Linked DNA regions of Homo sapiens: region 2 is linked to region 1. Evidence: promoter capture Hi-C in human tissues and cell types (Jung and others, 2019). All regions are on one chromosome and are shown on one strand. The core of a region is centred on a gene start or on the middle of the fragment in contact, and the rest is flanking DNA. Distances in the headings are between cores, read along the strand shown.

Region 1 (4,827 bases), core at 1,472-3,971:
ACAAAAATTAGCCAGGTGTGGGGGCGTGTGCCTGTAGGCCTGTAGTCCCAGCTACTCAGGAGGCTGAGGTAGGAGAATTGCCTGAGCCTGGGAAGTTGAGGCTGCAGTGAGCTGTAACTGCACCACTGCACTCCAGCCTGGGCAACAGAGTGAGACTCTGTCTCAAAAAAAAAAAAAAAAGAAAGAAAATTACCAGATAGTGGATAAACTGCTGGGCAGAGAAGTAAAGTAAGGTGATGTGAGTGATCAGATGACTGTGTTACTTAGATTGCCCTGTAACTGGAAGGAAGTGACTTTTAAGGCATGTATAGAAGCTGGGTGTGGTGACTCACACCTGGAATCCTAGTGCTTTGGGAGGCTGAGGCTGGAGTATCGCTTGAGGTCAGGAGTTTGAGACCAGCCTGGGCAGCAGGCTTTTGTAGAGACACGGTGACTTCAAAAAAAAAAAAAAAAAGTTAGCTGATGAGGTGGCACACACTTGCAGTACCAGCTACGCGAGGCTGAGGCATGAGGATCACTTGAGCACAGGAATTCAAGGTTACAGTGAACTATGACTGCACTTCAGCCTGGGCTACAAAGCCAGACCCTGTCTCTAAAATAAATAAATTAAAAATAAGGTGTGAACAGAATGACAATAAGATACCAACCCCGGAAGATCAGGGGGAAGAGGCTTTCTGACAGGAAGCACGTGGTACAATGACCCTAAGGCTCTGTTTTAAAATGCGTGGGGGCAAAAAGCCTGCATTTCTGGAGCTTGGAGAAGAAAGCTTTAAAAAATTATCTCATCCCACTCCTGTTCTTTTTTGCATGAGAGCTGGAGCCTATGCCCTACCACACATCCGTGGATATGCCCAGGATTTGACTTGGGCCTTCGAACTTTGCACAGTAGCTGCTACTAACTTTTTGAGATAATACATTCGTGGGGGCTCAGTCCTGCCTCATCTAAATCACCAGAGACCAAACAAGGACCAGCCCAATATCTCTTGGACTGTAATGTCATAATGTTGTCAGAATACAGAGAAAGATGAAACTAAGCCGGGTCCGGTGGCTTATGCCTGTAATCCAGCATTTTGGGAGGCCGAGGCAGGTGGATCACTTGAGGCCAGGAGTTCAAGACCAGCCTGGCCAATATGCTGAAACCCTGCCTCTACCAAAAAAATACAAAAGTTAGCTGTGTGGTGGGGTGGCACGTGCCTATAATCCCAGCCACTGGGGAGGGTGAGGTGGGAGAATCGGGAGGTGGAGGTTGCAGTGAGCTGAGGTCGTGCCACTGCACTCCAGCCTGGGTAACAGAGTGCAACCCGGTCTCAATAAATAAATAAATAAGTAAATAAAACAAAAATTATCTCAGCAGTAAAAAGCAAGAGAGCTAGTTTTCCCCCAAATTTAACCAAATGTTACTCTGGTGGTTAGTATGCCACCATCTTAAACTCCTTTTATCTGATTAGTAAGGATGGACATTTATTTTATGACCAATTGTTCTTTTATGGTGAATTACCTGTTTACATATCTATTTTTCTATAGCTATCTGCAACTCCCCCGACCCCCACGGTAGCGATTACTATCTTCTCTACTAAACTAAGACTCCAGGGCAGAGAGGCCTATGTTTAATTCATTTGAGGAAAGGCTTGGCACAAAGTGTGCACTTACATATTTTCTTTTTTTCTTTTTGAGAGGGAGTTTTGCTCTTGTTGCCCAGGCTGGAGTGCAATGGAGTGATCTTGGCTCATTGCAACCTCTGCCTCCAGACTTCAAGCGATTCTCCCCCTTAGCCTCCCGAATAGCTGGGATTACAGGCGCCCGCCACCACGACCGACTAATTTTTTGTATTTTTAGTAGAGACGGGATTTCACCACGTTGGCCAGGCTGGTCTCGAACTCCTGACCTCACGTGATCCACCCGCCTCGGCCTCCCAGTGTTGGGATTACAGGGGTGAGCCACCGCGCCAGGGCTCGCACTTACAAATTTTCAAAGAATGGACAGTAAATATTTGAAAATCCCCTCCTCCCCCGCAATTTATCTGACACCGTCTTTCGGTTTTGCTTTAAAAATTCACTCTCGCGGCCGGGCGCGGTGGCTCACGCCTGTAATCCCAGCACGTTGGGAGGCCGAGGCGGGCGCATCACAAGGTCAGGAGTTGGAGACCAGCCTGGCCAATTGGTGAAACCCCGTCTCTACTAAAAATACAAAAATTTTAGCTGGGCGTGGTGCCGTGCGCCTGTAGTCCCAGCTACTCGGGAGGCTGAGGCAGAAGAATGCACTCCAGCCTGGGCGACAGAGGGATATTCCGTCTCAAACAAACAAAAAATCACTCGCTGCGTTTTTTATTCTGACATGGTGCAGGAAGGTAAATTCAAGACAACTTAGGTACTCAGTTTTAGAAGTCGACAGGACAGAATTACGGAAACAAATTTAAGCGTTCCCCCTTTTAGCTCCAAATATAATGTGTTCCAGAAAGGTAACCATCTAGGAAACTCCAAGGCTCAGACCACCACCGGATGCCCACACTTCAGGAGCATTTATATAACTTCGTGGTTATGTCAGAGACGAGAAAACCCATTGACAACCAAACCCCTAAACCCGAACATCCGGCGCAAGCCGCACGCAGGCGCAGATTTACTAGCGTCAGAGCCGATGGTCCCGGGAGGTGGGGGTGGGGTGGTGGTGGCCTAGCCACTTCCCATAATGCCGCGTTCCGGAAGTTATTGCTTTCCAGGGGTCACTCTGGCTTCGACTCCGTCGCTCTCAATTCGTCACCAGGAGGAAGACGGAGCTGGCTGCCCAGCCCAAAGGCCCATGAGGGGATGCAGTTATGGGCTCTGTCGCCGTGGGTGAGTTCTGGTCCCACTGCCTGGCAGTCGTCGCTCGCCTGGCTTTCTGCGCTGGGAGAGCTCCTGTTTTCCGCCCCAACTTCGTTCTCTTCTTGAAGGCCGCTCTCCTTAAGCACGTAACCCGGCTACTTTCCGGTACTGCGATCTCATTGGCTGCATGTTCTGTCAGTTCCAGAAGCTGGCCAATGAGATGCCGCTGCTGGCGGCCTTCTCGACCCCGTGGACCCAGAGGTTCCCCCGTGGGATCGGAGCAGTTAGAAGGGGAGGAGAGGGAAGGTGTGGCAGGCGCCGAGCAAATGGGTGGGTGGCGCGTGGCAGGGACTTCCCTATGGGTTGGAGCTGGATTTGCAGCCGTGTTCATACGGCTGGTAGGAAAAGCAGGATCTGTCACTTATCCAATTGACTATATCTAGGAGGGGATTGATATACGCAAAACTTGAAAGCCACGTTAACACCTGCTGACAAAGTTTTCCACACGCTTACATTTTTAATGGAACCGAGTAGGCAGGGGAAGACTGGGAGGGCAGAGAGTGAAGAGACTTGGAATAATATGAGAACCGGCAAGACTATCTTTGATTTAGATTTTGTATGGAGTCCTGCGAAGAGTCATTTCACTAAGACGTTAATGCTCATCCGATGACACTACTTGAAAAGTGTATTAAGTTTATTGATGTTTTATAGCTGATGGAAGTCACAATATGCTCTCCTCATGACTCATTAGTTGCCTTTATAGTTGTCAGAACTTTACTGAGGCTCTTTCCGCAGCACTGGAGTGACCCCTCTGTCCTCTGCCTGCAGTAATTAACAATTCGTCTTTCAAGTTTTCCTATGGAGTCTAAGCTGCTGCAATCCTCAAACCAGATTTACTAGTGCTGTCTTCACTACTGCAGACTTCTGACTTCTCATTTTTCACCCTTTTCTTTTTCACCAGAACTTGTTTGCTTCATTCTTATGTACCTACCTTTGCACCTTGTAATCATCCTTTATGCCTCAGGTACTATTCTATTTTTCTATTTCAATGCAAGAAGTATTTCTTCAGGACCTGCTATGTACTAACATTATGCTAGATATTATAGGCAGTTCCAAAACTGTGCTTGAAACCATTTATTTTTCTAAGAACTTTAGATTCTGCTTACAGAAATAACATAAACCCAGATTAAAGATTTAAGAAATTCACTAGAATATGGGATAAGGGGACAAGATGACTAGAGCATACCATAAATACTGGGGAAGTTCAGTGGAGAGGTTTATTTAGAGTAGAATGATTGTCTAAGGCTTCCTTGAAATGGAGAGCTTCCAAGATTGGTAAGATTTAGATAGAATATTACAGCTAGAAATCAAAGACATCAAGGCGGGGAGGGTACAAAGTGTTTTGGAGTGGAGTACAAGAGAAGGACTTGGCCAGGTGCTGTGGCTCACGCCTGTAATCCCAGCACTTTGGGAGGCCGAGGCAGGTGGATCACGAGGTCAGGAGTTCAGACCAGCATGGCCAAGATGGTGAAACCCCGTCTCTACTAAAAATACAAAAATTAGCCGGGTGTGGTGGTGGGCGTCTGTAATCCCAGCTATTCGGGAGGCTGAGGCAGGAGAAGCACTTGAACCCGGGCGGCAGAGGTTGCAGTGAGCCGAGATCGGGCCACTGCACTCCGGCCTGGGCGACAGAGCAAGACTCCGTCTCAAAAAAAAAAAAAAAAAAAGAGACAGACTTGATTGGCAGGTAAAAAGTGGTGGTCTTGAAACCCAAACATCTGCATTTTACCTTTTTTTTTTTTTTTTTTTTTTTTGGTAGAGATAGAGTGTCGCTTTGTTGCCCAGGCTAGTCTTGAACTTCTGGCCTCAAGCCGTCCTCCCACCTCGATCTCCCAAAGTGTTGGGATTACAGGCGTGAGCCACCGCACCCAGACAACATCTGCCTTTTAGCTCATCGTTTGTGTGATCTTTCACCATTTTTTTTTCCTGACTTTTCTCCTTGAGTGAAATGCCTCTATTTAAAGTG
Region 2 (4,827 bases), core at 1,103-3,602, 1.0 Mb before region 1:
ATGCTTGAGGAATTACTCCAATCCAGTGGGAGGAGAAGAAAGAGAAGGTAGTGAAAGAAATAAACATTCAGAAAGTAAGAAAAGAATTAGAGATAGTCTAATGTAGCCAGAAGTACATATCCCAGACCTTAGAAAATGGTTTTCACCGTCTCAGATTTTTCTGAAGTAAATATAAACAAATCCATTTTCTGTCTCTTCTTCCTTTAATTACATTATTATCCATTGGTCAAAGCAATATGAACCAATTCTAGTAGAAATTACATTGAAAGCTCCAATGAAATAGGATTTTCTTGGGAGTCACCCAAGAAATAGATTTTCTGAGCAGAGGTTTACACTTAGGTATGGTACTAATAAAGATTATCTGCAATAAGATTGGCAATGACAAATTGCCTACTATAGTAATAGCTTCATTATATAGAATTATTACTTGGAAAATTAATTTTAATTGAAAACAATTTATCTGAGTGGTAGAAGTAAAAAGATTCTCCCGGCAGAGCTTATACCTGCTGTGTCTACTTAGCAGTGATTATTTCCCTAACTTTCTATTGACTCAAGGCTTTCTGTGCTCTATATTTTCCTCATGCATATAAAATTATTTCCACAGATAGGAACACAGCATTTCTTTGCATTTAATCTTCATTTATAACCAAATTACTATATGAAACTTATATATCTGCATCTCATTTGGGAAAAAACTGGTACTTGCAAGAAAGTTTATTGGCAATAAAAAGAATGTATTTAAATTTACACACACACACACACACACACAAATTCAGAATAAAGTCATCTCCTGATAGCTTCTCCCATTTACAATATTTGTTCAAGGAATGAAAACTACATATTCCTTATTAAAAACATTTTTCCTCCATTATGATTTGAAATTGTCAAATAAGAGGAGTGGTCATATCCCAAATCAAAAATTCTTTTTGAGCTGCACTTCTCCCTGATTAAGTATTTAATCCTCACCTAAAGGTCTCTCTAAAGTTGAGGTCTTGAAAAATTCCTTCTTGGTGTATCTTCCAAATAGAAATGCACTGTTAAAGCTTTCGTACAATAAGAACACATTTGGAATTACGTATCTGATTCATTGCTACAGTTTACAACTAGAACCTAGGAGTTTCCACTGAAAACTGAGATAATCACTCATGGTAATTTAAGAATCGTAACTTTTCTGGATGTTTCCTACTACCATCATATTTGTAGAAAATAGGAAATACCTGTTTTAAAAAGATTCCACAGAAATGTGTTTAATATATATCACTATGCACAAATAGATGCACAAATTTATACTGTCTTTTGTCATTGTTTTTTTTTTTTTTTTTTTTTAGATGGAGCCTGGCTCTGTCACCCAGGCTGGAGTGCGGTGGTGTAATCTCAGCTCACTGCAACCTCCACCTCTCGGGTTCAAGCAATTCTCCCGCCTCAGCCTCCCGAGTAGCTGGGATTACAGGGGCCCGCCATCGTGCCCAGCTAATATTTGTAATTTTGTAGAGATGGGGTTTCACCGTGTTGGCCAGGCTGGTTTTGAACTCCTGATCTCAGGTGATTTTTTTTTTTATATATACTTTAAGTTCTGGGATACATGTCCAGAATGTGCAGGTTTGTTACATAGGTATAATGTGCCATGGTAGTTTGCTGCACCCATCTCCCCATCATCTAGGTTTTAAGCCCTGCATGTATTAGATATTTGTCCTAATGCTCTCCCTCCTCTTGCCCCACAACCCCTGACAGGCCTCAGTGTGTGATGTTCCCCTCCCTGTGTCCATGTGTTCTCACTGTTCACCTCCCACTAATGAATGAGAACATGCGGTGTTTGGTTTTCTGTTCTTGTGTTAGTTTGCTGAGAATGACGGTTTCCAGCTTCATTCCTGCCCTGGCAAAGGACATGAACTTATTCTTTTTTATGATTGCATAGTATTCCATGGTGTTTATGTGCCACATTTCTTTATCCAGTCTATCATTGATGGGCATTTGGTTTGGTTTGGCTTTGAAACTGCAATCCCTTTTCCCAAAAATCCCCACTTTTCCCACTTTCTGAATTAAGCTCACACAGCAGGTTGGCATTTAAGACATACCACTCTCTGGGAAAAAACCCTCAATTTTACCACATATCTATAGCCTATAGATTAACTGGATCATTATTATTATTAATCAGTTTTTAAGCCCACCTCATTGAATATATGAGACTCTCAAGATTAGAAGATGGGACGGCATTCTCTAGGAAAACTGTCTTCTGGATCAAATGACACACCAATTTCAAGATCTTCCTGATTCCATCAGTTACTCCCTTTTTCCATCAACTGTCTTTGTGTGTTTCTTTCCTCGGATTGAAGATATTTACATTTCTGATTGACATCAATATAATTATTTTTTTTTTCCGAGACAGGGTCTAACTCTGCCGCCCAGGCTGGAGTGCAGTGGTAAGATCTCGGCTCACTGCTACCTCCACCTCCTGGGTTCAAGCGATTGTCTTACCCTCAGCCTCCCGAGTAGTGGGGACTATGGAGCATGCCACCATTCCTGGCCTGATATATATATTTTAGTAGAGACAGAGAGATGGGGTTTTGCCATTTAGGCTAGGCTGGTCTCGAACTCCTGACCTCAGGTGATCCGCCTGCCTCAGCCTCCCAAAGTGCTGGGATTACAGGTGTGAACCACCAAGGCTGCCCTCTTATAATCATTGTGATATGCATATTACCTTCAAAATTTATGCTAATGGAACTGAATTGCTTGTAAATCATGAATGAATGGCTTGTAAAATCATCCTACAATGAAATATTCATTGGAATTTTTTTTCTGTCCTGACTCACAGCTGCATAAGAGAATTAGAAACAGTCAATGACATGGATATTTTATGTGCATGTTATCAAATAAAATTATATTTTTTAAAAATAGCACATTTGATATCACATATACATATATTAAGCCAGGATAACTTTAAGAAAATGATACCAGTTATCATTACTCTTTATCTCATTTATCTGAAGAAAATGCACTTGAAGCATAGGAATCTCTCCTCCCTATTACAGGGGATGCAAGCAAGAAACACATTTTGTTCTTGTGAAAGACTTAATGGGAGGAAAAAACAGAGGCTGGAAAGCCCTAATCTGACCTTCAAACAAAAAAGTCCTTTGAAAATAATGAAGTAAGTAATTTCCTCCCCTCTATTGGCAATGCCATCTCAATCTCTAAGAATTTCCTATTCACTCCTTGACCTTTCCAATGAGGTCATCACCAAAGGAAATGTCTTACTTCAAGAGTAAGAGCAGACTTTAAAGATCTTAAACAATTTCAGAGTATAGACCTTGTTAGATCCTGTTCTCTTGAAGGGAAAGAGTAAGCAAGAGTTTTTTGCCAAAGAAATAACTTCTCAATGAATTTCAAAGCACTTGTGTGTGTTCGGAAAGTAAAAAGCTGGACTCCATATAAATTCTAACATTTCAATACATTTTACATTGCCTACATCTTGAAATAATACTTTAGCTACTGAGGATTGTCATTTATTGATAAGGCTACATCTGATTTAGGAACTTATACTATTAAAAAAAACAGAAGAAATGTTGAGCTGAAAAAAGTATAAACTTTTCTCAAATAAAATATGTCCTTTTGACTACATGGTTTCACCTTATTCAAAGGGCAATTATTTTCTATAAATCTATATATGTTTGCAATTTATATGAAAGTTTTAGAAAATAATTTATGTTGCTCATATATAAGTAGCTACAGTGTTAAAATTTCTATTATATTATTTTACTTTTTAAAATAATTTGTATCTGATTTATGGTGTGCAAGACTTAAGATGAGAATTTAGTGAATTATATTTATGTCATACAGAACAGCAAAAAAGATAAATATATAAATAAATGATGAGATGTATGATATTCTAGTCATGGCTGGTCACGGTGGCTCAGTGGCTCACACCTATAATACCGGCACTTGGGGAGGCCGAGGTGGTTGGATCACCTGAGGTCAGGAGTTCGAGACCAGCCTGACCAACATGGTGAAACTCCATCTCTACTAAAAATACAAAAATTAGCCAGGCATGGTGGTAGGGCCTGTAATCCCAGCTACTCAGGAGGCTGAGACAGGAGAATTGCTTGAACCCGGGAGGTGGAGGTTGCAGTGAGCTGAGATCGCGCCAATGCACTCCAGCCTGGACGACAAGGGCAAAACTCCATTTCAAAAAAAAAAAAAAAAGATATTCTAGTCATGAAAAATAACAGTTGTGAAAGTTTAAATTAAGAAACTGAGGAAATGATAATTTTTTTAAAAATTGTATCAGCTTTCTTTGTGCTGATATTAAATCAGAACTGTTCTAAACATGATTCTCATATAATTGGTTACTATTTTAAAATGACAGATATTGAATGTGTTAATAAACCTTTCTGAAGCCATCTTATTTCATGGCCCCTCAGAAGTAGAATCTGAACACAAGATTTGAGAGCGAGTGATGCAATAAAGAAGTTCTGCCAAAAGAAACCACTCAGAAAGTGTAGGAAATACAACTGGAAAAAACAAGTCAAGCAAGGCTATGATTTCAGGTGAGGCACCAGCCTCAGTCTGACTGGATGGGGAGCTCTGGAGGGTAAATTGCACTTTATAGTTGGTCCTATGGGGAATCAAGTGTGCTGTGCTGTTGTATTCCACTAAGCATTCATTAGCTATGGGCCATAAGCTGTCCACAGACAACTCAGCTCTAAAAAGATAATCTGTCCTCGAAACTTTCCATGCCAGTCTTTACCAGCAAAGCACAGAGAGCCTAAGGAGCGGTCACACAGTTCCTATGGGGGATCCACGGTTTTTACATGAGGCACCAACATTGTCTAC

What was found. The method cuts DNA at HindIII sites, captures the fragments that hold promoters and counts their contacts. A contact is called where the count stands out against the background at its distance.
Region 2: a fragment that was not itself captured here is called in contact with the fragment with the promoter of USP16 in region 1 in 1 of the 25 tissues and cell types used here (aorta).

What each region holds. Positions count from the first base shown.
Region 1 is chr21:29,021,947-29,026,773 of GRCh38, forward strand. It overlaps USP16 (ubiquitin specific peptidase 16), which reads left to right and starts at 2,722. Exons shown (of 18, transcript NM_006447.3): 1 at 2,722-2,831. RefSeq lists an enhancer at 2,598-2,987. The HindIII fragment of the contact is 4,673 bases long and covers 1-3,236 here.
Region 2 is chr21:27,976,581-27,981,407 of GRCh38, forward strand. No RefSeq gene overlaps it. Among named protein-coding and RNA genes, the nearest start is that of LINC00314, 34 kb to the right of the region's middle. The HindIII fragment of the contact is 4,119 bases long and covers 294-4,412 here.